Regions from separate parts of the Homo sapiens genome. Here region 2 is linked to region 1. The links are contacts of gene promoters, found by promoter capture Hi-C in human tissues and cell types (Jung and others, 2019). All regions are on one chromosome and are shown on one strand. The core of a region is centred on a gene start or on the middle of the fragment in contact, and the rest is flanking DNA. Distances in the headings are between cores, read along the strand shown.

Region 1 (3,864 bases), core at 764-3,263:
GGCAATTTTCACTTTCTGCAGAAAAGGTGCCCCTCGCAGATGAAACAATGGTGAGAGCACACTTGGACAGGGGAGGGGCAGGAGTTCTTATTCCTCATGCAGGTAGCCCCTACTGCTGTGTCGTTCCCCTATTGGATAGGGTTGGACCGCACAGTCTAAGCTAATTCCAATTGACTATTTTAAAAAGAGCAGGAGTACCAGCCGGAGTGGCAGGGTGAGTAGTTTAGCAGTAAGGGCGGTTACAGAACAGTTGGCTCAGGATGAATCAGGACAGAGTAGGTGACCAAGAGTGACTCAGGTCAAAGCAGGTGACCAGGGGAACAGCTGTGAACTACTGATTAGGACTGGCGGGAAAGTTGTTTACTGAAACTAGAAGCTAGGGGGCAAAGAGAACCAGGAAGCTAAACTTTAAAATGGAGAATCAAAGAATAAGAGAGCTGAACATACTGACATACTGATTCTTTGAAGAGAAACTTGGAGTTCACTATATTTAACAAATCTTTAATAAATAAGACATTAATATTGGTTTAATAAAAATAGCTACATCTTAAATTTAGTAAGATTACCATAACTTCTCATCTTGTGGCTTTAGGCAGTCCGGTCTATAGGCAATAGTGTTTGTTTTGGAAAAGCACTGTTATCATCTTTGTTTCAAAGCTAAATTATAAGTTCCTCCCAAAGTTAGTTTGGCCTATGCCCAGGAATGAACAAGAACAGCTTGGAGGTTAGAAGCAAGATGGAGTCACTTAGGTGCAATCTTTTTCACTGTCTCAGTGATAATTTTGCAATGGCAGTTCCATAATTTTAAATAATGACAAGCACAGTTTTTATAAATAATCTAGGTAAGTAATTAAAATAAAATAAGTAAATATTATAGGATAAATATAGACAAACTCATAATTTTGAATCTAAAGTTAAATAATAGAGATTTTATTATTTGGGTATTTTCCAATAAAAATATATTTGGGCCAAGTGCAGTGGCTCACACCTGTAATCCCAGCACTTGGGGAGGACAAGGCGAGTGGATCACGTGAGGTCAGAAGTTTGAGACCAGCCTGGCCAACATGGTGAAACCTCATCTCTATTAAAAATGCAAAAATTAGCTGGGCACAGTGGTGCATGCCTGTAGTCCCAGCTACTCAGGAGGCTGAGGCAGGAGAATCACTTGAACCCAGGAGGTGGAGGTTGCAGTGAACCAAGATCATGCCACTGCACTCCAGCCTGGGCGACACAGAGACTCTGTCTAAAATATATATATGTGTATATATATATATATGTGTATATATATTTGTGGAATGTTTTCCTACAAATATATATATAAGAATGTGTGTGTGTGTGTGTGTGTATATGTATATATATATATATATATATATATATATATATATATATATATATGTAGGAAAACATTCTTTTTTTTTGGAGAAAGAGTCTTCCTCTGTCACCCAGGCTGGAGTGCAGTGGTGCAGGGTTCAAGCAATTCTCCTGCCTCAGCCTCCCAAGTAGCTGGGACTACAGATGCATGCCACCATGTCTGGCTAATTTTTTGTATTTTAGTAGAGACAGAGTTTCACTATGTTGCCCAGGCTGGTCTCGAACTCCTGAGCTCAGGCAATCTGTCCACCTCAGCCTCCCAAAGTGCTGGGATTACAGGTGTGAGCCACCACACAGGCCAAAAACATTCTTTCTTAAAAAAAGTTGTGTCCCAGCCAGGTGTGGTGGCTCACACCTGTAATCCCAGCACTTTAGGAGGCCAAGGAGGATGCATCACAAGGTCAGGAAATCAAGACCATTCTGGCCGACACGGTGAAACCCTGTCTCTACTAAAAATACAAAAAAAAATTAGCTGGGCCTGATAGCACGCACCTGTAGTCCCAACTACTCGGGAGGCAGAGGGAGGAGAATCACTTGAACCCAGGAAGCAGAGGTTGCAGTAAGCCAAGATTGCGCCTCTGCACTCCAGCCTGGGTGACAAAGTGAGACTCCATCTCAAAAAAAGTAAAATACAAATAAAAAATAAGTGTGTCCTTTTGAAAAAGGTGAACAATTTTTGTCTAATTGAAAGTTTTTTTTTTTTGAGACAAGAGTCTTGCTCTGTTGCCCAGGCTGGAGTGCAGTGGTACAAAGCTCACTGCAACCTCTGCCTTCCAGGTTCAAGCGATTCTCCTGCCTCAGCCTCCCAAGTAGCTGGGATTACAGGCACCCACCACCACTCCTGGCTAATTCTGATATTTTTTAGTAGAGACAGGGTTTTGCCATGTTAGCCAGGCTGGTCTTGGACTCCTGACCTCAGGTGATCTGCCCTCCTCAGCCTCTTAAAGTGCTGGGATTACAGGCGTGAGCCACCACGCCCGGCTTCAAAGCTAATTTAAAGGTCATGTATAAAACAAGGTAAAAGGGGCCGGGCATGGTGGCTCACGCCTGTAATCCCAGCACTTTGGGAGGCTGAGGCGGGTGGATCATGAGGTCAGGAGATCGAGACCATCCTGGCTAACACGGTGAAACCCCATCTCTACTAAAAATACAAAAACAAAATTAGCTGGACGTGGCGGCAGGCGCCTGTAGTCCCATCTACTTGGGAGGCTGAGGCAGGAGAATGGCATGAACCTGGGAGGCGGAGCTTGCGGCGAGCTGAGATGGTGCCACTGCACTCCAGCCTGGGCAACAGAGCAAGACTCCATCTCAAAAAAAAAAAAAAAAGCAAGGTAAAAGGAACCAGGGAATAAAAGAGATGTAAAAAAAAGTTATAAAAATAAAGAGGTTTTTTTTTTTTTTTGGTAAGAAAGCTTAAAGAGAAATAATTTCATATGAGAAAGAATTTTGTATGATAAATTTAGTACTAAAGTAAAATGGCTGGTAGTTTAAGAAAGAGGAATGGGCTGGGCTCACTGGCTAAGGTCTGGAATCCCAACACTTTGGGAGGCCGAGGTGGGTGGATCAAAGGTCAGGAGTTTGAGACCAGCCTGGCCAACATGGTGAAACCCCATCTGTACTAAAAATACAAAAATTAGCCAGGCATGGTGGCACGCACCTGTAATCCCAGCTATTTGGGAGGCTGAGGCAGGAGAATTGCTTGCACCTAGGAAGCAGTGGTTACAGTGAGCTGAGGTCATGCCACTGCACTCCAGCTGGGACAACAGAGCAAGACTCTATCTCGAAAAAAATTTTTTTTTAATTAAAATTATCACATCCTTCTATCTGCCTGTATGTACTTTTGTTTGTTTGTTTGTTGTTTTGTGACGGAGTTTGGCTCTTGTCGCCCAGGCTGGTGTGCAATGGCACAATCTCAGCTCACTGCAGACTCCACCTCCTAGGTTCAAGAGATTTCTCCTGCCTCACCCACCCAGGTAACTAGGATTACAGGCATGCACCACCACACCTGGCTAATTTTGTATTTTTTTAGTAGAGACAGGGTTTCACCATGTTTGTCAGACTGGTCTTGAACACCTGACCTCAAGTGATCACCCACCTGGGCCTTCCAAAGTGCTGGGATTACAGGCCTGAGCCACCGTGCCCAGCTGGAAGTTGTATTTTATGATCAAGATGAAAATTTTATAAATTGTTTATAAAATTTTGGAAAACAAATTTAATTGGCTTCATGTTGTTTTTACTAGGGCTTATCATTTAAATCTCTTCTCTTAAAGAATGAAGGTTTTCAGGCCGGGTGCGGTGGCTCATGACTGTAAGCCCAGCACTTTGGCAGGCCGAGGAGGGCAGATCACCTGAAGTTAGGAGTTCAGGACCAGCCTGGCTAACATGGTGAAACCCCATCTCTACCAAAATACAAAAATTAGCCAGGCATGATGGCAGGTGCCTGTAATCCCAGTTACTCAGGAGGCTGAGGCAAGGAGAATCGCTTGAATCTGG
Region 2 (3,440 bases), core at 292-2,791, 350 kb before region 1:
TTGTAACTATTCTATTATTGTTGTTGTTAATCTCTTCCTATTGTTCTTAATTTATAAATTTAACTTTATCATAGATATGCATATATGGGAAAAAACATAGCATATATAGGATTCGGTACTATCTGTGGTTTTAAGGATCCACTGAGGGTCTTGAAATGTATCCCCTTGGACAAGGGGGAACTACTGTATATCTAAGCATGATGGCCCCATACCAGTCCCAGAGCCAGGCCTGGGGAACATCAAGAGAGTCGCTTTGCCTCTGGCCTGAGCCTACCTGGAATCCTGTGGACTAGGTCTGTCTCCTCCACCCGAAGACTTTTGGGATGGAGCCAGCATTGATTTTGGAGTCAGATACATGTGGCTTTCCCACTATTTAGCTATTTGACCTTAGGCGCATTAATCAGAGCCTCCCTGAGCCTCAGATTCCATATCCTGAAATGGGAATAACAAAACCTGCCCCAGGTTGAGTTAAGGACTTAAATACCATCGGGAGCTGGTACTGCACAGAAGCGTGCAGCTCAGCACACAGTCTGGTCCAAAGTGCTGGTCCCTTTTCCTTGGCAAAACTGGCTCATGCCTTTCATTTCACTCTTTTGGAGTCCCAAGCCAGCGTGTAGGACAAGAATATAAGGGAAGGTCTGAGAGGTTGGAGGACACAGTCCACCCCAGACATGGCCCAGGCAAGGCCAGGGCGGCACCAGGAAACCCAAGCTAGTGAGAAGAGTTACTGATCTGTGCCTCTTTGAAGCAGAAGTGAGGTGGGATGGGGAGGTGGGAACAGGTTGAGCCCATTATCCAAACAGAAACGGAGAGTGGTTGCAAAGAGGGAGAGGCCGATAAGTGAAGAGGAAGGAAAGCCGAGGCGTATGGGGGGCTGGGGACAGAAACGGGAATCCAGGTTGTCGGAGGGCAGGGGCTGCAGAAGGAACACGCTGGAAGGAGGGGTGCTGGGGAAATGGGAGAGCTGGCACGGAGGCGGGCCAGGCGGTAAGGGTGGAAAGGAAGAGCAAGTTCCTGGAGAGAGGAAGGAGGGGTTGGAGGGGACGACAGTGACCTGTTGCCTGGAGAGAAGAGAGGGAAAGCGAGGGAAGGGAGGGCAGAAGCTGTCACCTTGGGTCCTGCTAGAGGGCAAGTGAACGGGGCTCGCCCGGGAGTGGAAGGCTGACGGAGGCCTGGGTTGGGGTGGGGGGCCCCGGCCCGGCTGTACCTGCTGCTCCCCGCGGAGCTCTCCCACGTAGTACTGCTCCAGCCAGCGGCGCGCGTTGGCCGAGTGCCTGTGCGGCGGCCCGTCCAGGTCGGCGCTGATGTCCTGGCCCGCCCTGGCCCGCAGCAGCTGCTCGCCCCCCGGGTGGTGCCGCACGAAGCTGGAGAGGTCGTAGAGGCGGGCCCCGCGGCGGACCCAGCACGCGCCGGCCGCCAGGCGCCGCTGGACCTCGGAGGGCGAGAAGGAGGCGGCGGGGGGCGGAGCGGGGGCCATGGCCGGAGACCGCAGCTCCCAGCGCGCAGCCCGGCGTCTGCTCTGCTGCCACCCTGAGCGCCTCTAACATCCCGGGAGCCCCGCGGCCGTTCCGGGCGGGCCGCCACCGCACCTGCTCATTTGCATACCGCGCTCCCATTGGCCGGCCGGGAGCCCCGGCAGAGCCGCGAGGGGCGGGCCCGGCGCCGGGAGCTGCGCGCCAGGTGGCCGCGGACAGGGAGTGCCGCGCCCGCCAGGTGTGTCCCGCGCGGGAGGAGGGTGGGCGGACACAGGCGGAGCGAGTCTCCCCGTCGCGGGTGGTTGTCTGGGCGGACATCCTCGGTGGCCTGATCGCTGCTGGAATAACTTCAACTGCTTCCACGGAGGAGCTGGCCGCATGGGACCCTCTGGCTCCAGGAGGTGCCCGAGAGAGCGAGAGGCGAATGAGGTGCTCGCCTCGGGTGCAAATATTTGTTTGTTTTTAAAATTTCAGTAGCTTTTGGGGTACCAGTGGTTTTTGGTTACATGGAGGAATTGTATAGTGGTAAGTCCTGAGATTTTAGTCCACCTGTCCCCCGAGTAGTGTACATTATACCCAATGTGTAGGGTTTTGTGTGTGTGTGTGTGTTACACCCCCTCCCATTCTCCCTATTGTCCATTATATCACTCTGTATGCCTTTGCGTCCTCATAGCTTAGTTCCTACTTATGAGTGAGAACATACAGTGTTTGGTTTTCCATTCCTGAATCACTTTCACTTAGAATAATGGCCTCCAGCTCCATGCAAGTTGCTGCAAAAGACTTCATTTCGTTCCTTTTTATGGCTGAGTAGTATTCTATCGTGTATATCAACTACATTTTCTTTATCCACTCATTGGTTGATGGTTATTTAAGTTGGTTCCATATCTTTTCGATTGTGAATTGGGCTGCAAAAAACAAACATTCGTGTGCAAGTGTCTTTTTCATATAATGACTCTTTTCCTTTGGGTAGATACCCAGTGGTGGGATTGCTGGACCGAATGGTGAATCTACTTTTTCTCTCCTCCCCTCCCCTCCCCTCCCCTTCCCTTCCTTTCCCTTCCCTTCCCGTGACAAGGTCTCACTCTGTCACCCAGGCTGGAGAGTAGTGGTGCGATCTTGGTTCACTGCAGCCTCGACCTCCCGGGCTCAAGCAATCCTCTTACCTCAGCCTCCCAAGTAGCTGGCACTACAGGCATGCACCACTACGCCTGGCTAATTTTTGTATTTTTTGTAGAGACGAGGTTTCACCATGCTGCCCAGGATGGTCTCAAACTCCTGGGCTCAAGCGATTTGCCTGCCATGGCCTCCCATAGTGCACTTTTTTTTTTTTTTTTTGAGACAGAGTCTCACTCTGTTGCCCAGGCTGAAGTGCAGTGGCACAATCTCAGCTCACTGCTACCTCCGCCTCCCGGGTTCAAGCGATTCTCCTGCCTCAGCCTCCAGAGTAGCTATGACTATAGGCGCGTGCCACCACGCCCGGCTAATTTTTTTGTATTTTTAGTAGAGACGGGGTTTCACCATGTTGGCCAGGTTGGTCTCGAACTCCTGGCCTCTAGTGATCCTCCCGCCGCAGCCTCCCAAAATGCTGGGATTACAGGCGTGAGCCACCGCGCCCAGCCCCAAAGTGTACTTTTAGTTTGTTAAAGAATCTCTGTACTGTTTTCCAAACAAGTTGTACTAATTTACATTCCCACCAGCAGTGCATAGCATAAGCATCCCCCTTTCACTACATACACGCAGACATCTACTGTTTCTTGACTTTTTAATAATGTTCGAGGGCAAAATTTAATGGGGCACCCCAAAACTCAGTCATCACTATATCTAATACCTGAACGTAATATTTAAAAAATTATATTGTTGGCTGGGTGCGGTAACTCACACCTGTAATCCCAGCACTTTGGGAGGCCGAGGTGGGCGAATCACGAGGTCAAGAGATCGAGACCATCTTGGCCAACATAGTGAAAC

The links. Contacts are between HindIII fragments. The study calls those that stand out against the background at their distance.
Region 2: a contact is called between the fragment with the promoter of FA2H here and a fragment that was not itself captured in region 1, in 1 of the 25 tissues and cell types used here (dorsolateral prefrontal cortex).

The regions. Positions count from the first base shown.
Region 1 is chr16:75,122,106-75,125,969 of GRCh38, forward strand. It overlaps a transcript of ZFP1 not described here. Among named protein-coding and RNA genes, the nearest start is that of LDHD, 7.3 kb to the left of the region's middle. The HindIII fragment of the contact is 6,546 bases long and covers 1-3,864 here.
Region 2 is chr16:74,773,279-74,776,718 of GRCh38, forward strand. FA2H (fatty acid 2-hydroxylase) reads right to left here and starts at 1,542. Exons shown (of 7, transcript NM_024306.5): 1 at 1,208-1,542. The coding sequence starts at 1,477. RefSeq lists silencers at 1,179-1,228, 1,269-1,638, 1,649-1,778, 1,789-1,848. The HindIII fragment of the contact is 21,235 bases long and covers 1-3,440 here.